7 separate regions of the Homo sapiens genome follow, and all the other regions are linked to region 1. The links are contacts of gene promoters, found by promoter capture Hi-C in blood cells and fetal thymus (Javierre and others, 2016). All regions are on one chromosome and are shown on one strand. The core of a region is centred on a gene start or on the middle of the fragment in contact, and the rest is flanking DNA. Distances in the headings are between cores, read along the strand shown.

What was found. Contacts are between HindIII fragments. The CHiCAGO score rates a contact against its expected background, and 5 or more counts as called.
Region 2: a fragment that was not itself captured here is called in contact with the fragment with the promoter of RRS1 in region 1 in 4 of 17 cell types (M2 macrophages, M1 macrophages, M0 macrophages and 1 more); the score reaches 9.1 in M2 macrophages.
Region 3: a fragment that was not itself captured here is called in contact with the fragment with the promoter of RRS1 in region 1 in 16 of 17 cell types (M0 macrophages, M2 macrophages, M1 macrophages and 13 more); the score reaches 24.0 in M0 macrophages.
Region 4: a contact is called between the fragment with the promoter of DNAJC5B here and the fragment with the promoter of RRS1 in region 1, in 6 of 17 cell types (M0 macrophages, M2 macrophages, monocytes and 3 more). The highest score is 11.0, in M0 macrophages.
Region 5: a fragment that was not itself captured here is called in contact with the fragment with the promoter of RRS1 in region 1 in 17 of 17 cell types (M2 macrophages, M1 macrophages, M0 macrophages and 14 more); the score reaches 34.5 in M2 macrophages.
Region 6: a contact is called between a fragment that was not itself captured here and the fragment with the promoter of RRS1 in region 1, in 1 of 17 cell types (M0 macrophages). The highest score is 6.1, in M0 macrophages.
Region 7: a fragment that was not itself captured here is called in contact with the fragment with the promoter of RRS1 in region 1 in 3 of 17 cell types (M2 macrophages, M0 macrophages and M1 macrophages); the score reaches 8.9 in M2 macrophages.

Annotation. Positions count from the first base shown.
Region 1 is chr8:66,427,692-66,431,034 of GRCh38, forward strand. RRS1 (regulator of ribosome synthesis 1) reads left to right here and starts at 1,323. Exons shown (of 1, transcript NM_015169.4): 1 at 1,323-3,042. The coding sequence starts at 1,441. The coding sequence ends at 2,538. It overlaps RRS1-DT (RRS1 divergent transcript), which reads right to left and starts at 1,286. Exons shown (of 3, transcript NR_040434.1): 1 at 1,251-1,286. The region is part of intron 1 of LOC102724687 (a long non-coding RNA gene); the gene reads right to left. RefSeq lists enhancers at 712-781, 1,202-1,571, 2,841-2,890 and a silencer at 972-1,061. The HindIII fragment of the contact is 6,678 bases long and covers 1-3,343 here.
Region 2 is chr8:66,141,517-66,144,646 of GRCh38, forward strand. All of the region lies in intron 4 of TRIM55 (tripartite motif containing 55), which reads left to right. Among named protein-coding and RNA genes, the nearest start is that of TRIM55, 16 kb to the left of the region's middle. The HindIII fragment of the contact is 1,571 bases long and covers 527-2,097 here.
Region 3 is chr8:66,059,303-66,062,713 of GRCh38, forward strand. All of the region lies in intron 3 of DNAJC5B (DnaJ heat shock protein family (Hsp40) member C5 beta), which reads left to right. Among named protein-coding and RNA genes, the nearest start is that of DNAJC5B, 39 kb to the left of the region's middle. The HindIII fragment of the contact is 3,519 bases long and covers 265-3,411 here.
Region 4 is chr8:66,020,202-66,023,390 of GRCh38, forward strand. DNAJC5B (DnaJ heat shock protein family (Hsp40) member C5 beta) reads left to right here and starts at 1,352. Exons shown (of 6, transcript NM_033105.6): 1 at 1,352-1,504. It overlaps LOC105375883 (a long non-coding RNA gene), which reads right to left and starts at 1,280. Exons shown (of 7, transcript XR_929008.3): 1 at 1,223-1,280; 2 at 822-1,032. The HindIII fragment of the contact is 2,733 bases long and covers 1-1,519 here.
Region 5 is chr8:66,041,167-66,044,273 of GRCh38, forward strand. It overlaps DNAJC5B (DnaJ heat shock protein family (Hsp40) member C5 beta), which reads left to right. Exons shown (of 6, transcript NM_033105.6): 2 at 2,322-2,445. Among named protein-coding and RNA genes, the nearest start is that of DNAJC5B, 21 kb to the left of the region's middle. The HindIII fragment of the contact is 1,413 bases long and covers 861-2,273 here.
Region 6 is chr8:66,003,585-66,006,857 of GRCh38, forward strand. The region is part of intron 4 of LOC105375883 (a long non-coding RNA gene); the gene reads right to left. Among named protein-coding and RNA genes, the nearest start is that of DNAJC5B, 16 kb to the right of the region's middle. The HindIII fragment of the contact is 1,825 bases long and covers 654-2,478 here.
Region 7 is chr8:66,085,650-66,089,067 of GRCh38, forward strand. All of the region lies in intron 5 of DNAJC5B (DnaJ heat shock protein family (Hsp40) member C5 beta), which reads left to right. Among named protein-coding and RNA genes, the nearest start is that of TRY-GTA5-1, 26 kb to the right of the region's middle. The HindIII fragment of the contact is 6,637 bases long and covers 1-3,418 here.

The sequences.
Region 1 (3,343 bases), core at 73-2,572:
TTAGATAAGTCATTTCACCTCTCTGAGCCCTCCTTGTTTCATCTGTGAAAATAATATAGTTAATACAATAATTAATAACATAGTTAATACTAATAGCTAACACATACTGAGTTCTTACCATGTAGCAGTAACTAATGTTTTATGTTTGTCAATTTATAAATAAGGCTTAGATCAAACATCCTCTCCAAGTAATGGTGACCTGATACCTGATTGTAGGCCGTTTGACTCATACTTAACACCATGTAGCACTTACCTCCCAGAGCCTATGAAAATGAAATAATAATCGGTATTTGGCTAATTTGTACTGAGTACTCATACGCTCCAGGCCCTCGTCTAACCCTCCCTTGGACGATATTAACTCATTTATCTTATAACCACCCTAGGAAGTATTATTATCATTATCTCGCAGGCCTTAAAACGGCCTCAACAAGTAAAATTGCTGAAGGACCAACAGTGGCACAGTCAGGATTGGAACCCAGGCAGTGTAACTGCAGAGCGTGGCTTAGTTTCAGCACTGTACTAGATTAATTGAACTAGACTAGGTTCTGTAACTGCAGAATCCCGGATCTCCGAGTCAGCTAGCTCACTAGGGTCGGTGCACACCCGCGCCCACTCGGGGTGGCTTCATTGCCAGAGCCACTGACTCCCAAAACAAAACGAATCTTCTACAATTAGCTCTATGTGTATCTTTGGGATGTTATCTTTCTCGGGCCACAACTAGGAACCCTGAAAGCCGACTATGACTCCAGTGAAACTATTTGGCCCTAAGAAGGGTGATTGTCTAAACATCTTCACAACGGATTTACACTGAAATTGTAACACGCACTTGATTGGAACCCCACACCACAGGCAGTCCCAGGAATTTGTACCCGCCCCGGTCCCGGACCGCGCCCCTGGACAAACCCTCCGGCCCGCCCCTCCGGATTGAGCCCCAAGACTGTCCCCGGACCACCATCCTAAGACCACTCCCTGAACTGCCCCCCCCAAGACCGCCCCCTAGATCGCCCCCCGGGACCGCCCTCTCTAGACCGCCTGCGAGACTGTCCCCGGACCGCCCCCTGGACCACCCCCTAGGCGGCCCCCCGAGCTGTCCCTGGACCGCCCTCTAGACCGCCTCCCGCCCCCTGCATCCTGGGAATCGTAGTCCCAATCCTGCTCTGGAACTAGCAGTGCGGCCTGCTCGGGCCAGCTCCGCCTCTATCTGGCGCCAGCCTAAAGGTCCCGCTTCTAATCCCATCATCTCTCCATACCGCCCTCTGCCGGCCTTTCCTCTGGTCGCCCGGATTGCGAGCCGCTTCCGGACGCTCCGGAAGCGAACCTTTCTTTTCCGGATTGGGCATCCCGGCATCTGCACGTGGTTATGCTGCCGGAGTTTGGGCCGCCACTGTAGGAAAAGTAACTTCAGCTGCAGCCCCAAAGCGAGTGAGCCGAGCCGGAGCCATGGAGGGCCAGAGCGTGGAGGAGCTGCTCGCAAAGGCAGAGCAGGACGAGGCAGAGAAGTTGCAACGCATCACGGTGCACAAGGAGCTGGAGCTGCAGTTTGACCTGGGCAACCTGCTGGCGTCGGACCGGAACCCCCCGACCGGGCTGCGGTGCGCCGGACCCACGCCGGAGGCCGAGCTACAGGCCCTGGCGCGGGACAACACGCAACTGCTCATCAACCAGCTGTGGCAGCTGCCCACGGAGCGCGTGGAAGAGGCGATAGTGGCGCGGCTGCCGGAGCCCACCACACGCCTGCCGCGAGAGAAGCCTCTGCCCCGACCGCGGCCACTTACACGCTGGCAGCAGTTCGCGCGCCTCAAGGGCATCCGTCCCAAGAAGAAGACCAACCTGGTGTGGGACGAGGTGAGTGGCCAGTGGCGGCGGCGCTGGGGCTACCAGCGCGCCCGGGACGACACCAAAGAATGGCTGATTGAGGTGCCCGGCAATGCCGACCCCTTGGAGGACCAGTTCGCCAAGCGGATTCAGGCCAAGAAGGAAAGGGTGGCCAAGAACGAGCTGAACCGGCTGCGTAACCTGGCCCGCGCGCACAAGATGCAGCTGCCCAGCGCGGCCGGCTTGCACCCTACCGGACACCAGAGTAAGGAGGAGCTGGGCCGCGCCATGCAAGTGGCCAAGGTCTCCACCGCCTCTGTGGGGCGCTTTCAGGAGCGCCTCCCCAAGGAGAAGGTGCCCCGGGGCTCCGGCAAGAAAAGGAAGTTTCAACCCCTTTTCGGGGACTTTGCAGCCGAGAAAAAGAACCAGTTGGAGCTGCTTCGTGTCATGAACAGCAAGAAGCCTCAGCTGGATGTGACTAGGGCCACCAATAAGCAGATGAGGGAGGAGGACCAGGAGGAGGCCGCCAAGAGGAGGAAAATGAGCCAGAAGGGCAAGAGAAAGGGAGGCCGGCAGGGGCCTGGGGGCAAGAGGAAAGGGGGCCCGCCCAGCCAGGGAGGGAAGAGGAAAGGGGGCTTGGGAGGCAAGATGAATTCTGGGCCGCCTGGCTTGGGTGGCAAGAGAAAAGGAGGACAGCGCCCAGGAGGAAAGAGGAGGAAGTAATAGTTTCTAACTGTCGGACCCGTCTGTAAACCAAGGACTATGAATACTAAATGTTAAGTTCTAGGCAATTATACGGGGACTCAGAAGGACCTGGCCGCTGCCTTCATTGAGTTTAAAGGGACAGGATTGCCCTTCCGTCAAGAAAGTATGTAAGTGTTGGACTGCACAAATTAATGTTTTTCCCACAACCGAGACTTTGGAGATTAAGAACTTATTTGAGGATTTAAGAATTAGGGAAATAATTTGGTGGAAACCGGGAATGAGTTCTATTCTTAAACAGCCTTTTTTTTTCTTTTTAATGTTGGATATACGGCGAGGTAGAGTTGGCCATATTTCAGAGACTTAGATTGACGTATATGTTTCTGCATTATTTTTACAACAAGTTTGTGTATCAGAGCGGGAGTGCGGGGGAGGGAAAGAAAACAAACAGTTTCAGAATTGAATAGGCAAGTGACTGTTTTAAAGATTAAGTAATAAAGATGTCTTATCTAGTGTGACTTTTAACTTTCTGACTACTGGGTAGAAATTGTACTTGAAGCCGGTTACCTGGATACCTGGTACAGATTATTTTTGTTTACTTTCTGAAAAACACAAAGCAGGCCGTGCGCAGTGGCTCACTCCTGTAGAGTCCCAGTACTTTGGGAGGCCGGGGCGGGCGGATCACCTGAGGTCAGGAGTTCGCGACCAGCCTGGCCAACACAGTGAAACCCCATCTCTACTAAAAATAAAAAAATTAGCCAGACACGGTGGCTGGTACCTGTAGTCCCAGCTACTTGGGAGGCTGAGGCAGGAGTATCGTTTGAAC
Region 2 (3,130 bases), core at 62-2,561, 290 kb before region 1:
GGGAGCTCTCTGCTTCCAGGGAAACATGCTTGACTTTCACTTCTCATCCCTAGAGAACATAATCTACCTCTTGTGAACTTTACCAGTGGAACTTATCCTATGTCACTGGATACTTAAGGGCACAGGCTGTTAATACTGGCCATCCCAAAGGCAGGCTGGCAGGCCTAGAAACATCCCTGTTTTGTATGGCCTGTCTAGTGGAAACTGTTCCAAGTAAATAATAAATATTTGATATTGAGCATTTCCAATCTCTGAAAAAGGACAACTTGAATAAAACCCTCCAATGATTTTGCAGTGATAACAAATTCATTGTATTTCCAAAACAGTGATTTTACCCAAAATGACCATTTCTAGTCTCTGAGACATTGTCCATGCCATTACAAATATGAAGTATGAATATAATTAGAGTTGTTTAAATACCATGCCAGAATTTTAAAGGCAATATAACATATGTTTAAAAGAACAGATTTCAGAGTTTGAGTTTTAGTTCTGTTGCTTAATTACACGACACTGGGCATGTTACTTAAGCTTCCTGTCTCTCGGCTTCCTCAGCGTTACAGTGGGGATGATAATACCTTCTTCACAGCATTGTCATGATGACGAAGTTGAAATAAGAGGTACATTCCAGGGGCTTGGTAAATGTCACCTTACAGCCTCAGAGTCATCTTGGAAAGCACACACTTATTCTGATGATGTGATCCAATAGGAACCTCTAGAGATTCTGGAGCATCTTTTAAATGATGTCAGAAGACTATCAGGTCCTAGTTAATTGTGATGGCAGGACTGAGCATCTCCCTCTAGAGGGACACGTTGAGAATGAATGGAGCTACAAATGACTTCCGTTATTTATCTAAGAGGCTTTGTGGCAACTGGAAATATAGGCAACCAAGGGAGACTGAGCCTCTTCTGGGAAACATGGTGACTACCCACAGCAGACCAGAGTGAGATAAACATCTGCTCAGTCTGACAAGTGGCTTTCACTGAACCATGGGGTTCCTGTCAGAACAGGCCCACCTGGCCCTCAGCCCTTATAGCGTCTACTCAAGAAGATTCTAAATGATCTGGCTTAGCCCAGAAAAACCAAAATGCCAAGAACCCCAAGAGTAAGTGTTAGAAATCCCTCAAATTACCGTATAATTATCCTTCGAACATGGAGCGGCAACATGAAGTAGTAGAAAAGAGCCTGAGTTTGGAAGACCCGAGATCCACAGCCACTGAATGGAGTTGTTTGCTGAGCACTACACAAAGGGGCCAGCTGGTGGAGGGCTGAATCCCAGCCTGGGTGCCCAGAAGTTGGTGTCTCTGTAGTTTATCTGTCCCCTTTCTAGGGACACCCTAGTCTGTACTCATGGGACTTCTCCAAGTGCTTGTAACTGGAGCTTTATGAATGAAAGGCTGGATTTGATTTTCTTGGAAGGAACTTCTTACTTTAATGTAGTTCTTTTTTCAGTATTGTTAATCTACAGGCTGCTTTTCTTTTCTTTTTTGGAGGGTTGGTGGCAGGAAATCCTGTTTGCTTATTGAAGGGAATTTTGAAGTTCCTTATTTCAAATGAAGGTATAGCTCTAACAAGTATGTCTCGATGAATGTTGGAGGAATGTGGTGGAGATATGAATGGGCCTAATCAAGCCACAGTTGCTCAGTGACAAGTGGTGGGTCTAAGAGCTTATCTTCAGCTCTATTTTGGTCACAGAGCTGTGTTCCTTACATGGTAAGAGCAGTGGTCATTGTTGCTTTAGGTTTTTTTCCTATTGTGGCCATGGCACGTGTGCAAGCTAGTGCTGAGCTTTCAGGGCTAGGACATGTAATGTATATCTTAATGCTGTCGATGACACAAGACTTGCCAGGAACAGAGGGAAGCACATCATAGCCTAATGACTCTCTGAAACTTCTTCACATTTACCTGAAATTAGAGAGTCTTGGCACTGTAGAGTCAGAAGGGACTTTAGCAATTATATAATTCAGTCTTTCACTGTACAAATACAAACATACTAACAACTGTCCTGAGGTTCAATGGTTTCCCAAAGGTTGCATAGCTATATTTTACTGGTTTCTTGGTTTTTGGGTTTTTTTTTTTTTAACACTGAATGAAGCAGAAGCTTGGAATATCCACTTAAATACCTATTTCTTTGGAACAGAACAAAACTGAAGCTTTTGCATGAAGGCTGAATATTTCTAGATGCAAGTCACATTTTATTCATTCATTCATTCATTATTTCAATCTATATTTCTCGAGGGTGCATTGTGTGCCATGTTCTGTACACATAATGCTGGGAACTAGTGATGAGCTAAACATAAAAGGTTCTGTTCACAGGCATTTTTTATTCTAATAGAGGAGTTAGGCAGTAATCAAATGAACAACAAGATCATTTTAGAGAGTGATAATTACCTGAGAGAAAAGTGAACCAATAAAAATCTAGCCATTTAAAACAGTGGTATGATGGTGCTTTGCTTGGAAGGCTGTCTTCTCTTTTAATGTAAGGTCATCTATTGTTGATTTTTCTTTCCATGAAATGTTCTCTTTACAGTTGCATATTTTGTTTTTCTTATTACTACTAAAATATAAAGGTGGCTAGAAATTGGAGTCTGCCAATTTTAACATTTCCATGATGGCAACAGTTCAACAATGGCTTTAGGTCAATGTTAAATGTTACCTACTCACTTCTAAGGAAACAACCAAATGACCATTTGATTTTTTTTCTTTACATCCAGAAATGTTGGCATTGGTTAGAAACAAATATCCCACCCATCATCATCTTACCATTTCAATATGGGAGGGATGATCTTCACTTTATAAAATCATCCCTTTTTGGTATATTGCATCCACACTGCATTCTCCCTAGAAATGGGATGAATTTTATTTTCATTAAAATATTATAGACAACTTTAATTTGGTTCTCCCAAGAAGCCAAGAAATATAACTGTCCTAGCAGACCCAGGAGGAAGGCTGTGCAGCAGCCAGAGGCTTTGCATCAGAGTATACCCGGAGACCAATACCTACTTCATTTATGGTGGAGGTATACTTCACTTGCTAAGCACACTCACACAGGTGCACACACAGAGGATGTAGGAAGCACAGACATCAAAAGGAAGAAAATGGAGACTATTTGAAAAGATAAACTCGAAAGCT
Region 3 (3,411 bases), core at 774-3,273, 370 kb before region 1:
CATGCTGTCTGAAGGAGACTTATTTGAGTTAATCTTTTAAATTCAGATAGGCCTAGAAGAAGTCATCCATCATTCATACATTTGCCTGAACTTTAAACTGGTGTGTCTTGCCTTTCCACCTAATTTAGATATCGCTCCAAGAGCCAACAGGAATTTTGAGTTAGAAAGCTAGTGTAGGAGTTGAGGAGGAGGGAGAGTCACTAGTGGACAGTGGGATGATTGAACAATTGGGGAGATGGGAGACTGCTGAAATAAGAAACTCAAAGCTTTTTCTCTACATAACCTCAATACTCAGGTTCAAGACCCTTTAAAGTGACTTGAGAACTTGGGTTCACTGAAGAGTCTCTGCCGTCCTTCTTCTAGGGGTCTCCTCTGCGGAAGTCTCCCAGGGCGTGGGAGGCAGTTCATCTCCATGTAGTGGCATTGTCCACCAAGCCATGTTGCCACCCTGTAGCTGATGCTGCTTTGCCATTTGCTGTGTGGGCATGTCCACAGTCACTGCTAGACATAACCTTGGGTGCTAGACTCTGCTGCTGCAGCTCCCCTGCCACTCAGCTGCATCACCCTGCCAGGCACGGTAGGCACAGAAGGTGCTCCTTGCCAACCTCTCAGTCCCCAAGTCCCGACCGCTCCTTCAGGCCCAGAAGCCTCTTCTGCTGTTTACCTTGAGAGCCGAGGGAACACCAAAGCCTGCTGGGCTGTACCTCTGGCAGGATTGAGGCTGGGCATAGTGGATGGCTCCTTTCCTCCTCTTTGTGATATGCTCTGTTAGAGCCCCCTATGAGTTCAAAGCATGGTAGAAAAGCTCCTTCCAGTTTTCCTTGTAGCTCTGTTTTTCTCTAGGACCCAGACACATGCTCAGGGGGTGAGCCAGACACTAGCAGTAATGTCGCTCTGCTTAGACTCTAGATCTCATCCAACAGACCCCCCTCCTCTTGTGTCAAGGTCATCACACCTGGCTCTTTCCTAAGATGCATTCTTTTCCAGAAGATTCTACAGTTCCCTCCCCAGACTAAGAGAGGTTTGTGTCAGGCTGTACCACTGGTTCTTTAGACGTACCCAGCTGGGGCTGTCACAGCCGTGGCTTGTATTCCTTTCTGGAAGCCTCTTCAGCTCTCTGGGACTTCTGGGAGGCCACTGCTACCAGCTTTCCAAACACATCCTGATGTGCCCTAACCCCGTGCAGTGAACAATGGGCGACAATGACTCAAAGAGCAGCCCTACCGTATTCCTGCAGCAAGTCCACCTGATTCTGTGTTGAACTGGGTAAATAAAGTGTATTATTTTACTGTTTGTTGCTCAGCAAGAACTGTGGGTGTGTGATTAGGTTTCCTCTTTTCTTGTTGGCACATAAAGGACCTTCACTCCAAAGTCATTAGATTGTTGATCCATACTGCTACCTAATGATAGCAGAAGCCAAGAAGGCTGATCAGAGCACGTAGCAACCACCAGTATGTCTAGAGTCTCTGACACTATCAATGGCTTTATACCAGCAAGTCTGGTTCATTATTCAACGAATATGTATTGAGCACCGCCTCTGTGTTGGCCACTGTCCTAGGTAAAATAGCAGTGAACAAAACAGACCTGCTTCCTTAAACCTGTTTTAAATAGGGCCAGGGGAAGGGGGAGGCTTAATAATGAACACATAAGTAAGACACACAACATATCAGATGTTGCTAAATGCTAGGAAGAAAAGCAGAAGAGGGTAGGGAGTGTTAGGTAGGAGTATGCTGGAAGTTTTACATTCTCTTTGAGATGTTCACATAAACACTAAAATCACTCCATTGAAGTGTATTCTAAATATAATGTAGCAGTTAAGAGCACAGGGTATTTCTGAGTGTGGTGGTGCTTGCCTATAGTCCTAGCTACTCAGGAGGCTAAGGTGGGAGGGTCTCTTGAGCCCAGGAGTTTGAGGCTGTAGTATGCTATGACTGAGCCTGTGAATAGCCACCGCACTCCAGCCTGGGCAACACAGAAAGATCCCATATCTAAAAATGAGTGCAAGGTATTCGGAAAGACCTGAATTCAACTCACTTTTCTCAGCCTCATTCTCTTCATAAGTAAAGTGCAGATAATGATCCAATCTCAGAGGGTTGTGGAGGATTACATGAGATGATGCATGCAAAATGCTTAGCCAGGGTTTGGCACATGGGTACTGGGTGCTACAAAGGATATACAAGGGCCTGAGAACCAACCATACATAATGGCAGTTTCCAAACTCAGCTAGGGCACGGGTGCAGGGTGACGTGCCAAGAAGTGTTGAGTATGTGAATGAGAAAGAATGGATAGAGAGAGAGAGAGAGAGAGAGTGTGTGTGTGTGTGTGTGTGTGTGCGCGTGTATAAGGGGTACTTAGATTATGTGACATTTAGATTCCATTGAATACATTTAAAAGAATGTTACAACTGTTTTATTTTAACATGCTGATGTTTATAATATGCTGAAAATTACATTCTTTGCATCTGTTTAATCTTATAAAAATTTTTAGATGCCAAGTTAAAAATGTTGAAGGGACACAGTTTCTCAATATTATTTTAAGAGGTGTCTAAGCAAAAAGAATTGAACTGGGGGTGGGGAGGACAGAAGAAACCCAAACATCCCACCGAGAGTGATGACAAGGAGGCATTCAGGTGGCTTCGGGGAGTGGCAGCCTGTGGGGGCGCAGCCGAGCCCCTTCCTGAGGGCTTTCCTTTGCTTCCTGGCCCACTGCGCTGTTCCAGCAGAGCACTGCAGCCTCACAGACAGTAGTTCCCTTGCTGCTTTTCTGCCTCTCCCATTCCATCAGTTCCTTGAGGGCAGACACTGTGCCTGGTCTCTCACTGTACTTTCAGCCCTAGCACCATGCTAGTATTTGCTGAATGCAAAAAAGAATTAGAAAATAGAAAATGTCTGGAAAATGTCTGTTTTCTCCTCGATTATAGTCTCAGCTTCTTCAGGACCATTTCTCAAATAATTAGTTTGGTCACTTTGCTGAACAGGGAGTTATTCACTGACCCAATAAACAGAGGAGGGGCAGATCAGAAAGGAAAGATACTAGCTTCCATCTGGGATCCAGAGCATTTTGTATGATTCTGGGACCTTCAAGTGAAAAGTAGTTAGGGGATAAGAAAAGGAAAACTAAAAAAACAGCCAGATATGCAATTTAGAGAATGTGTCTTCAGAGTTTAAAATCTCATTTGTAACATAAACATTGGTTTTTATTTACACCAATACATACATTTTTGAAGTGAGCTGGAAACAAGATTAAGATGCCCCAAAGTGAGGCTGACTGGTTTCTCTAGCATGTTGGGTGCAAGAGCCTAACAAAATGCTGGGTAAGAAATCATGCAAAGATCTAGCTCTTCCTTGGCTTTTTAGAGAGCCACAAAATTGGAGTGAGGCTGGCTGTGGTGGCTGTTGCCTGTAATCCCAG
Region 4 (3,189 bases), core at 102-2,601, 410 kb before region 1:
CACAACTTCTCTAAGCTATAATTTTCTCATCCAGAAAATTATACTGAAAATAATACTTTGTTTATCTCACCAAGTTGTGAAGATTAAATAGAGTGATATGTGTGAAAATAGCTTGTAAATGAAGCATGATGTAAAATGTTATTGGTATTATGAAAGCCCAATATATGTTCTCCTCTTGAGAGATTCTTAAAGCACAATTCTCTGACTTCACAGATACGTCGTCTGATGCAATACAGATACTTTTTAGTATCATATGGGGTTAGCGTCTAGAAAAAGTGAAGGGTATGAAATAATGAAGAATGAAATTCCAGTGAGACTCTATTTCTTTACAGATTGCTCCTCCCTGTCCCTTACTCAACACTAGAACCTGGTATAGCGCTGTAATCAATACTCTGTGTGTGTGTGTGTGTGTGTGTGTGTGTGTGTGTGTGTGTGTGTGTGTGTGTGTGTGTTTTAGACAAGGTTTCATTCTGCCGTCCAGGCTGGAGTGCAGTGGTGCAATCTCAACTCATTGCAGCTTCGATATCTTGGGTTTAAGCGATCATCCCCTGTCAGCCTCCTGAGTAGTTAGAACTACAGGCACGCACAACTACGCCCAGCTAATTTTTGTATTTTTTGTAGAGATAGGGTCTCACTATATAGCTCGGGCTGGTCTCAAACTCCTGGGCTCAAGTGATCCTCCCACCTCAGCCTCCCAAAGTGCTGGGATTACAGGCATGAGCCATCTCGCCCTGCCAACACTAACTCTGGACTTTCATTTGAGCTTTGCTGCTTATCATCAAATCTCAATGAAAACATTAGTTGCTCAGAAGTCACCTTACTTGTTAATCTAGAAATGGTCTGGTGGCTCAGGATTTCTGAGTCTGGGCTGGGACCAGAGCCAGCTACTCCTGGCACCTGTGTTGCTGGGGAAACATGATCTTCACTGAGACTCTGTTCTCTTCCCATAATGTACATTATCCAAATGGTCTCTTGTTGTGGGTGGATTCGGGTAAAAATTGTCTTCACCACGTGGGGCCTCAGTTTCCTCATCTGCAAAAAAAAAGGAGTTAGATGAGAATCTGGTCACTAGCCGGTCTTCTAGGTCTCTCCCCACAGTTAAGATCCCATAATTCTGCAGGTCAGTTTATGACCTGCAAAGGGATTCTTCCCTGAGGGCCCTCACAAGGTTTTGAATGGCAGAGCAAATGGAAATGGGGGAATGTCCTTCCCAACCTCCCACCATGGGCAGGAGAGGAAGTGTTGTCCAAGAGGGCCTCAGCTGGACCATCTGGAGGAGTGAGGATTCCACTCTGTGACATCACAATATCCAGCCCAGGTTTGACCTTGACAACTGGGAAGGAGAAATAACAGGAGGCGCAGTTACTGATATAGCCAAGGTGGGACACTACTGGAGGGAGCTAGAAGGGATCAGCCAGCCATGCCTCCAGTTCAGGTACTTGGCATTGCTAAGCTCAGAACAGGACTTGCCAGTGTCTAGATGAAAAAGAGGAGAGATCTCAAGGTGAGTGTGTCTCCAAGCTTAAGAAGAATAGTATAAGCACAGACGGCTTGTGCCCCAGCTGCGTTAGGGTAATGTAAGGTTCCACACGAGCAGAAGCAGAGCTGGGCGCATCTTGCCAACAGCCAGGCTGCTTGCCATGAAGCCGGACGGTGAGGACATTTCCGAGGCTGTAGTCCACTTGTGCTGCTGGTGATATATTTCTATTTAGAGGTTTTTTTCTTTCAATAGCTCCTCCCCGGATGACAGGGTAGAGTAAACAAAAATAAGTTAACTAAGGAAGTATTTTAATAGAAGCCAGTACAAAAACAAACAAAAGTAATAAAAGGTGCAAAGTTGTATTATGGGTTAGCAAGCAAGACTGACTCTAAGGTCAAGTTTTGAAAGTTCAAATCTTGAAAGGCAAAAGGATACCCCTATAAAGAGTAAAAGAGAAGGGCCTTTTGGTTGAGAAGTAAGTAAAACAGCTCTGCTGGAACATATACCGGACCCCCCACCCCGCCCCCAGCAACTCCTGCCAGTGAAATCATTGCTGGGGATGCGGACAGTTCTGTTTTCTTTACCTTGCCTTGGGGTTTTGGCTTCTACAATACTTGTTTCTTCCTGGAGTCTTGGGGCCCTGAGAGGCTCTGAGTGACGGCAAAGAACTGTTCTGTTTACCAGTGGGGCGGAGCATGGGGCCAGCGCCAGGCCCTGACTCATCCCCATGTGGACTCCCTTGGGTCTTAGCACACTGCGACCCCGGAGTTGGAGCACAGGACAGCTCAGGCAGGCACGCTGAGCTCTGCCTGCAAGGTCAGAGTTGATGGCGATGCTCCCTCAGTGGGAGTAAGAGTCCATGTTCTGACAGGTAGGTCAGTTACCCACAGGGGACCCCAACAGCCATCGACAAGAAGAGGAGGAGATGGATTCTCTATCCACAGGACACAACTCTAACTCTCCTTGGCCTCCAACACATCACGAATAAATATATCACAGCAGTAAGGTCAATACTCTCACACTCTATGAAAGTAGTAATAGTCCCCAAAGCATGTAAAACTGAGAGATCCAGATAAAAGCAAAATATACTTGCACATAAACTTCATAGCACACATTCAACTTCTGTACAGAAGTCACTGTGATTTTCACAATTAGGTTATGATCTAATCATAACCACTTAAGACTTGAACATTAAAATCTCATTGGCCCAGTTTTTAGGCTTCCTTCATTGATAGCCATTGAAAACTAAGTTTAAGCTGAACCTCAGATAATACCCACAAAACACAGAATGTCCTAACTCATCTCCATTTGCATTTGTTGACTGTAACGTTCCCTGATCCTTGTGTTAGTCACATGCTGCTGCAGCCTGTCGCATACTGCAGAATTTTAGAGTCGGAGGGGAACTAGAAGATCATCCATTCCACAGCTTCGTTTCCAGGAGAAACCACACAGAGAAGTGTCTCAGCTAAGGGTATCAAGCTAGTTAGTGCTGGGGACTAAAGTTTAAGCCCCCTCACTCTTAGCCTGGTGGCCTCTCCAATACACTCTGCCCCACAATGAATGAATGTATTGGTTCATATTTGAACTAACTCTTTGATTTTCTAAGTTAGAATATTCTAAAAGGAGGAAATCTCATTTATCACCTTGGTGTGGTTATTGGTAAAAGCAGATATTCTCCTAGCCTCTGCACCTCCATACAAGATAAGCTT
Region 5 (3,107 bases), core at 317-2,816, 390 kb before region 1:
ATATATTGCATACTAATAACATAAATGATGTAGAGAGGTACTAAAAATAATAATATTAGTAACAATAATGCCTTTGTTCATCATGTCCTTGCACATCACATGTTCGAAACAAGTGGTGTTTGAGCCTGCTGAGATATGAAATTTAAAAGAAAGACTATGTAACCCTAATGCTTATGTGTTAGATAGCTTGGGTTGAATATTCAAATAATTGATCTGGTACCTGCTGCAGATTCTGTGGTAGTGCACCAGTCATTTCTTAAAATAGCCCTAACCATATGTGGCAATTGAAAGAGGTGTATAAGGGGTCCCTAGGAGCCCCTAAGGGAATGGTGAAGACCTCACAAATAGAGAAAACAAGGGAAATTAGCAAGTAAAACCCTCCTCCCAATCATGGTTCTATCTTAAGTTTCCTGCCTCAGAGACAGGACTTTTTGGTTCAATCTTGGAAGATATACTAAGTTCTTTTTTTCAAAACATAAATGATCCACTTGGCAATGCTTTTACAATACATTTAGTGCATTTTGAATCAAGGAATTGTTTAATGTGCTTACCATGAGTTATTTCCTTTTACAAATATCATTTGAAACTCACCATTTCTAGAAAGCCTCACCTGGTTACGTGGAATATGATCCCATTGATCTCTGGCTGTATCTTTTGATATCAGAAGCCATATGCTTATAGGCATGTAATGACGTCCTATGTATGACAGCACACATCAGAATGTCCCTTTAATTTCTCCGACTTAAGCACGTAGGACCTTTGAACATGCTCTTCCACCTGCTTGGAATATATCTGCTACTACCAGCAACTCCTTTATCTAGTTCTTTTCAGATCTCTGCCCAGTTGTTTTTGTTCAGGGAAGCTTTCTCTAATCTTCCTCTGTTCACTGATTTTACGTTCTTGCAGCATCTCTCCAAAGTCTCACTTTTCCACTTTTTTGAGTGACCATTTGATTGCTCACTGCCTGTCTTGGAAGGCTGTAACTCTTTGACTCACACACCCAGGGTCTGTGTTGACTTTTGTTTATCAGTATATTTCTAGAAGTTAGTCCAGTGTTTGAATTCAATAGGTGACTAATTGTTGAATGAATACTGCACTTTCTCTTTGAAACTCAGCTACAGTTTCACTTTGCTGAAGAGTTCTGCACTACTTAACTTTTTGAAACTAATGTTCTATGTAATACTTTAAAGATTAATGGTTAAGGAGAGTGATTCATTGTGCAAAAAGAATGACTTTTACTAAAAGTATTTCTTATTAGACTAAATTTGAAACATAAACTAAAACATACATTTTTAAAAAGCTACCCATAAGCTCACCATATTTACATAGCAACTATTTTTATTTCATCAAAGGACACTGTCCTTAAGCTGAAGTCATGCTGGAACTTGGGTATTTCATTCTAAATTTGTTTGTGTTTCTTCTTCTTCTTCCTCTTCTTCTTCTTCTTCTTCTTCTTCTCCTTCTCCTTCTCCTTCTCCTCCTTCTTCTTCTTCCTCCTACTCCTCCTTCTCCCTCTTCCCTCCTCTCTCCCCCTCCCCCTCCCCCCTCCCCCTCCTCGCACCCCTCTTCTTCGTCTTCTTCTTCCTCTTCTGTGATGATGGGCAGCTTCATAAACTCTGGCTGGAAATCCGAAGGTATCTAAAAAACTCTCAACTAGAGGTGAGAGTGCTCTGAATCATTCACACAAAATTGCCTGAAGCTGGGCTACCTGTCTTGGTAAACAGCACACTTAAACTACTCCTTCAGCCTCCAGGACCCCACTGTGCCAAATTCAGGAATAACACCTGTCTCATGTAAAACTTTTTTAGTCTGTAGGATCTTACTCTAAATCATAGGAATTGTTGTCTCACGAGACTTTTTAATGTCTGTGAGAGTATGGACATTAGCAAGAGATGCCTTAACTCTTAAAACCACCTCAGTCAGTACTGTGACTCAATGCCTCTTAACTAGGCGAGGGTTAAATATGCAGATTTGAAAATATTGGGTTAATAAATAGTGAGCAGTTAAAGTTTCCCCCTTATTAGTGTTGCATGTTCTTTCCAGTAATTTTAAATCAACTGATCAGTAGTAGCCTTAGATCAAAAAGGAAATGAAGTTTGAAGGAACCCACTTCACATGTAAGGAGATGAGCTTATTTCCTTAATGGAGAGTCCCGGTGGAGACGCTGGAGGCAGTTCCTCAGTGGTGTTTGGTTGAACCAAGCACCAGTCAACAAAGGATCAAAAGTGGGCTGCAGCATATATTTTGGTATCAGTGGATGCCTTGTAATTGCAAGCTTTACGGTCATGCATGTTTCATTCTCTCTTTGTTGTGTTTTCCAGAGGGATAACCAATTGGCTGGCAAAGTAACAAATGAAAAGTAACCTGACTCTATTGACCTGCTTAACCCTGCATGGGGGGGAAGGATGGAAAGGAGCAGCTGTTTGCTTTGAAACGGTGGAACAGGTATGGAACAGCAGCTTTTGCTGTTGCCTTCTTTTATTTCTTTGCACATCTATTTCCAGACCAGTTGAAAACAGCAAGTTGTTCCTGTTTGCGGACACAGAATCGGGGTTCCGGGTTCCAGGAACAGGTACTGTGGTTTACTAGTAACATTCTGACTTGCCCCATCTTCAGGTTGCCATTTATATAAGGATTAGTGCAATGAAAAGAACCTTTTTTTTTTTTTTTTTTCCTTTGAGATGGGGTCTCACTCTGTCACCCAGGCTGGAGTACAGTGGCGCCATCTCGGATCACTGCAACCTCTGCCTCCCAGGTTCAAGTGATTCTCCTGCCTCAGCCTCCTGAGTTGCTGGGATTACAGGCACCCGCTACCACAGCTAATTTTTGTACTTTTAGTAGAGACAGGGTTTCACCATGTTGGCCAGGCTGGTCTGGAACTCCTGACCTCAGGTGATCTACCCGCATTGGCCTCCCAAAGAGCTAGGATTACAGGTGCGAGCCCGGCCAAGAGCATTGTTTTCAAATAGCAAATAAGTAATCCTGCTAGGGAGAATTATTACTTTTAAACATAGGATTTGCATTTTGGAAGTTCATTTAGCTTTAAGATACATTATTTGGGCTTATGGGAATTTTGCTCCACTAAACAAATTTCTATGAAGGAATCA
Region 6 (3,273 bases), core at 316-2,815, 420 kb before region 1:
TGCCCTTAACTCACATCTGTTTGCTCAGCTGCATGAGGAGATGGACACAGAACACACATGTCTTCTCTTATACACAGAAGTGAGATAGCTTTCTAAAGGTAGATCACTGGCCAGAGTTTTTGAGTTACTAGAGCGGCACCAGAGATTTCTTTTAGAAAAACAGTCACCACTGGCTGCACATTTCAGTGACACAGAATGGGTCACAAAATTTGCTTACTTGTGCAACATATTCAACCTGCTCAACAGACTCAATCTGTCACTTTAGGGGAGAATGACAACTGTGTTCAAGTAGGCAAATAAAGTGGCTGCCTTCAAAGCCAAAATGGAATTATGTGAGTGACGAGTGAACATTGGAATTTCTGACATGTTTCAAACATTAGCAGAGATTTTGAAAGAGACTAAGCGAGGGCCTGGTGCATGATCACTTATCTTAGCTTTCAAAAGAGTTTAAGCATTACTTCCAACCACAAAAGACCCCCAAACTGGGAAGGAATGGGTCTGTGAACCATTTCCAAATAAGCCAGATGGGTCAACTGGTTGAGATCACAAATGACAGTGACCTTAAAAGTATGTTTGAGACAACTTCAAATCACGATACCTTCTATATTAAAGTCAAGGCAGAATATCCTAAGATTGATACAAGCGCATCGAAAAGCTTGCTGCCATTTCCAACATCCTGTCTTTGTGAAGCAGGGCTTTCTGCAGTGACAGCAACCAAAATGAGATTATGAAGTAGATTGGACATAAGCAACACACTTCAGGTGTCACTGTCTCCCATCACCCCCAGATAGGACCGTCTAGTTGGAGGAAAACAAGTCAGGGCTCCCACTGATTCTACATTATTGGGAGTTGTATAATTACCTAATCATATATTACAATGTAATAATAATAGACATAAAGTGCACAAAAATGTAATGTGCTTGAATCATCTCGAAACCATCCCCTACTCCTGGTCCATGGAAAAATTGTCTTCCACGAAACTGGCCGCTTGTACCAAAAAGTTGGGGACAACTGATGTAGTACAAAGGGGAAAGAAATAGCTAACATTTGTTGAGCCCCTACTAAGTGCTAACAACTCACTTTTCCCCATTTGATTAACATAACACTGTGCCATAAATATGACTTCCTACATTTTATAGGGGAAAGAATCTGGGGCTCAGAGTAGTGTAAGAACTTGCCCAACTTTACATGCACAGACCGTCCTGTGCATCTCAGGTATGGACCATGGAGACAGGCAGAGCAGGCCTGGGATCTGGCTCTGCCACTAACCAGCCCTGTGACTTGGGAAACCAGTGAAAAGTAGTATCCAGGATGGTCAGTTTTATACGTCAGCTTGGCTAAGCTACTGTCTCCAATTACTCAATCACAGATGCTATTCCAGGCATCGCTGTCCTCAATCAGAGAACGTGTTTTGTAGATGTTGTTAAAGTCCATAATCAATTGCCTTTAAGTAAGGAAGGTTATTCTGGATAATCTGGGTAGGCCTGATTCAATCAGTTAAAAGGACTTGAAAGCAGGGCTAAGGCTTCCCTGAAGAAGAAAGTCCATCTGTGGACCAGCTTCCCTGAGTGCCTCAAATTCCAGCCTGCCTTTCTTAATGGCCTGCCCTATGGATTTTGGACTTCCTTAACCAACCCCACAATCAAATAAACCTACACATAAAAATTCTGAATATCTCTTGCTGGTTTGGTTTCTCAGGTGGAACTCTGATACAGTGCCTCCCTCATGTGTGGTGAAGATTAACTGAAGTCATGGTATTACCAGATGGGAAGCATTTGACATGGTGCTAGGAACATTCAAACAGGTTTGAAACATGGTCATTATTACTGTGAGGACTTGGCAAACACCAGGTTAAGCCTACATCTAATTGGCTCTCAAGCCTGACACTCTACCCAGCACAGACTTGGTCAATAGCTATAGTCACCAGTTCTATCACAAATTCAGTGGGACCTACCACAAACTCAATGTGACCTTGAGCTGGCTGCAAACTCGATGGGCCCTGGCTTCCTTCCTGTAAAGTGAGGGGATTGTGTACCAAATGATTTTTGTATAAACTTCCAGCTCTGATGTTGTCTGGGTCAGTTTTGACCTAATTGATCAGATTGTTATTAGGCCATGTCTACTTCCTCCAGCCACCAGACAAGATTTGTTCCATTACTGGTACATTCAGAGCTCTTCCTTCACAAATGGCCTTCTAATTACTGGGTGGTTTATGGCCCAAGAAAATGCAAACTGAGTTTAATATTAACTTGAGCAGAGCATTCATGTCAATTTAGTTCTAGAGCTCCCACTCTGCCCCAGACGATGGGCCATACAATATATTAAAAAAGCATTAAATCTGGTCCCTGCCCTTAAGGAGCACAGGGAGACCTCCAAAAATCAGGTCCTACTGTGAGGGAGTAGGTAATTAAGACTAAGCACTATAAGAGTTGATAGTAAGGAGGCAGTGAGATCATTCTGGGCTGGAATGATCAGAAAAGCTTAGCAGAAGAGATAGGAATTTAGATAGGTGACATGTGTATGTAAGAGGTAAGAAGGAAGTTAAATCTTCCACTTTTCCAGTGCATCATGCATCTCAAAATCCAATGGGTATGATTTTGGGAGCTCTTTACATTACTGTTTGTCTTTGCTGGCAGAGAATCAAGAAGCAAATGCCATGAGATTTCAGGCTTTCTCTCCTATTCTCCCTGACATCCTCATTAACCACCATTGTTCTGCACAAAGATGAGCATGCACAGTAAGTTCACTACATCACACACATTTATACACACGTATCTGCAGATGCCCTGACAGTCCCATCATTTGTGCATCTGGGGACTCCCATAGTAGAATAAGTTTCATTAAGGTGGGTGGGTCCTAATTAATGTTTCTCTTGTCTACTGCGTATATCTTACCTTCCACAAAGCAGGCCTTCAATAAATATTTATGGAATAAATAAATGAAAGTATAATCACTCTCCAGACTATGGGAGACACAAAGGGAAAGTTTCCCTATCTGAAACTTTCAATGGCATTAAAACCCTAATAACGGTGAGTCTTACACTTTGAAGATTCTTTGATTTTTAATGTCAGCCCAATCTAACTCCCTGCTCCCACTTTTAAAAAAATATTGCTTACATCCTACCATCAGGGCTTCTTATTCAAAGAGCCATTGATAGAACCACAGCCAAAAACTTGCTGGAGCTGAACAACAACAACAACAAAAAAAAAAACAGTGGGTGTAGGTAGAAGAAAAGTTATGCTTGAATGACAAGCAAACACCAGAAGGATTAAT
Region 7 (3,418 bases), core at 607-3,106, 340 kb before region 1:
CTATGTGTCTATCTCTTCATCAATTCCACACTGTCTTGCTCTCTTGTAGCTTTAAAGTAAGCCTTAAAATCAGGTAGTGTGATTCTTCCAACTTTATTTTTTTTTACAAAATTGTTTTGGCTCTTCTAGTATCTTTGCTTTTCCATATAAATTTTAGAATCAAGTTGTCTATATCTACAGAAAAATCCTGCTGGGATTTTTATTGGAATTGCATTAAATTTGTAGATCAGCTTGGAAAGAATTGACATCTTTACTATGTTGAATATTCCAATCCATCAACAATATGTATCTCTACTTATCCACGTCTCATTTGATTTCTTTCATGAACATTTTGTAGTTTTTGGCATACAAAGCTGGTAATGTCTTGTTAAATGGGTACCTAAGTATTTCATTTTGGAGAGAGCTATTGTAAGTGGCATTGGTTTTAATTTTGCTTGCAGTTGTTCATTGCAAGTATTTACAATTTCTTTTTATATTGCCTTTGTATCCCATGTCTTTGCTAAACTCATTTAACAGTTTGGATTTTTGTGTGTGTGTAAATTCCTTGGGATTTTCTATGCAGACAATTATATCATCTACAAATAGAAACAGTTTTATTTCTTCCATTCCAATCTGTATTCCTTTTGTTTCTTTTTCTTGCCTTGTTGCACTGTCTAAGATTTCTAGCACTTGGTTTGCTGCTGTGCTGTCACTGTCTTAAAATTCTTAATTTTTGAATAAGGTACCTCACATTTTCATTTTGAACTGGGTTTGGCAAGTTATATAGCCACTACTGAGGATATTTCCTTGTGTGTACTATAAATCAGGATTTCAAGTTTGATGACTTTTGCCAACAGAAATTTTTCTTTGAAGGAACTATTAGCTACCTTTACATTTACATTAAAAAATCTACATTATATAAAGATGTTTAAAAGAACAGAGGAGCCAACCCTCACTGGCAAGGAAGAAGACAAAATGCCTCCAGAGCATAATACTCTGGTTTTAGGGAAGGGGAAAACTAATTAAGATGAGACAAGGTGGGATGGGGAAGACTAAGTGGAGCCAGGGCTTTATATTAATTACCCATCTAAATTCTATGTTACAGATTATTATATTGTACTTGGAGATTTGACCAGCATATGAAGATTACCACAGGAAATTAATTTTTCATACATGAGCACTAATTTTAAGGAAATATGGTTAGCAGTTCTTTCTTCTATTATTCTCCCCATCTTTTATCCAGAAATGTCAAGATGCAAAGTATAGTAAAACTGATATGGGGCAATCTTTACTCCAGAATAAAAGTAATAGCTACTTAACACTTTGTCTTCTTATACCTTACTATACTAAAAAATAAGAGAAAGGAACAGGGATTAACTAGGGAAATACATTTATGATTTGAATTCAGTTACTGTATTAGTCTGTTTTCACACTGTTATAAAGATACAACCAGAGTATGGGTAATTTATAAGCAAAAGAGGTTTAATTGACTCACAGTTCCTCATGGCTGAGGAGGCCTCAGGAAACTTACAATCATGGCAGAAGGTGAAAAAGAAGCAAGCACCTTCTTCATAAGGTGACAGGTGAGAGAGAGTGAGCAAAGGGGAAGTTCCACACTTTTAAACTTTCAGATCTCATGAGAATTCACTCACTATTGTGAGAATGGGATGAGGGAAACCAGCCCCATAATCCAGTCACCTTCCACCAGGTCCGTCCCTCAACTCATGGAGATTACAATTTGAGATAAAATTTGATAGGGACGCAGAGCCAAACCATATCATTCTGCCCCTGGCCCATCCCAAACCTCATGTCCTTTTCACATTTCGAAACCAATCATGCCTTCCCAATAGTCCCCAAAAGTCTTAACTCATTCCAGCATCAACTCAAAAGTCCAAGTCCAAAGTCTCATCTGAGACAAGGCACATCCCTTCTACCTATGAGCCTGTAAAATCAAAAGCAAGTTAGTTACTTCCAAGATACAATGGAGGTACAGGCGTTGGGTAAATGTTCCCATTCCAAATGGGAGAAACTGGTCAAAACAAAGGGACCACAGGCCCCAGACAAGTCTGAAACCTGGCTGGGCAGTCATTAAATCTTGAAGCTCCAAAATCTCCTTTGATTTTATGTCTCATATCTAGGGCATGTTGATGCAAGAGGTGGGCCCTCACAGCCTTGGGCAGCTCTGGCCCTGTGGCTCTGCAGGGTACAGCCCCTGCAGCTGCCTTTCCCAGCTGGCATTGAGTGCCTGTGGCTTTTCCAGGTTCTTGGTGCAAGCTATTGATGGATCTACCTTTCTAGGATCTGGAGGATGGTAGCCTTCTTCTCACAGCTCCACTAGGCAGTGCCCCAGTAGGGACTGTGTGTGGGGGCTCCAAACCCATATTTCCCTTCTGCATTGCCCCAGCAGAGGCTCTCCATGAGGGCTTTACCCCTGCAGTAGACTTCTGCCTGGACATCCAGGCATTTCCATACATCCTCTGAAATCTAGGTGGAGGATCCCAAAGTTGAGCTCTGGTCTTCTGCACACCAGGAGGCCCAATACCACGTGGAAGCCACCAAGATTTGAGGCACCCTCTGAAGCAATAGCCTTAGCTGTACCTTGGCCCCTTCCAGCCTCATCTGGAGCTGGAGTGGCTGGGATGCAGGGCACCAAGTCTTGAAGCTGCACAGAGCAGTGGGGCCCTGGCCCTGGCCCAAGAAACCATTTTTTTTTCTCCTAGGCCTCCAGGCTTGTGATGGGAGGTCCTTCTGTGAAGGTCTGTACATGCCCTGGAGACAGTTTCCCCATCATCTTGGCTATTAACATTCAGCTTCTCGTTACTTATGCAAATTTCTGCAGCAGGCTTGAATTCCTCCCCAGAAAATGGATTTTTCTTTTCTACCATATAGTCAGGTTGCAAATCCAAACCTTATGCTCTGCTTGCCTTTTAAACATAAATTCCAATTTCAAACCATCTCTTTGTGAACACATATAACTGAAGGCTTTCAGAATCAGCCAGATCACCTCTTGAATGCTTTGCTGCTTAGAAATTTCTTCCACCAGATACCCTAAATCATCTCTTTCGAGTTCAAGGTTCCATAGATCTCTAGGGCAGGGGCAAAATGCTGTCAGTCTCTGCATGAGTGACCTTTGCTTCAGTTCCCAACAAGTTCCTCATCTCCGTCTGAGACCACCTCAGCCTGGACTTCATTGTTCATATCACTATCAGCATTTTGGTCAAAGCCATTCAACAAGTCTCTAGACAGTTCCAAACTTTCCCACATCTTCCTGTCTTCTTCAGAGCCCTCCAAACTGTTCCAACCTCTGACTGTTACCCAGTTCCAAAGTCACTTCCATATTTTCAGGTTATCTTTATAGCAGTACCCCACTCTGCCTGTACCAATTTTCTGTATTAGTCTGTTATCACTCTGCTATAAAGATACCACCTGAGACTGGGTA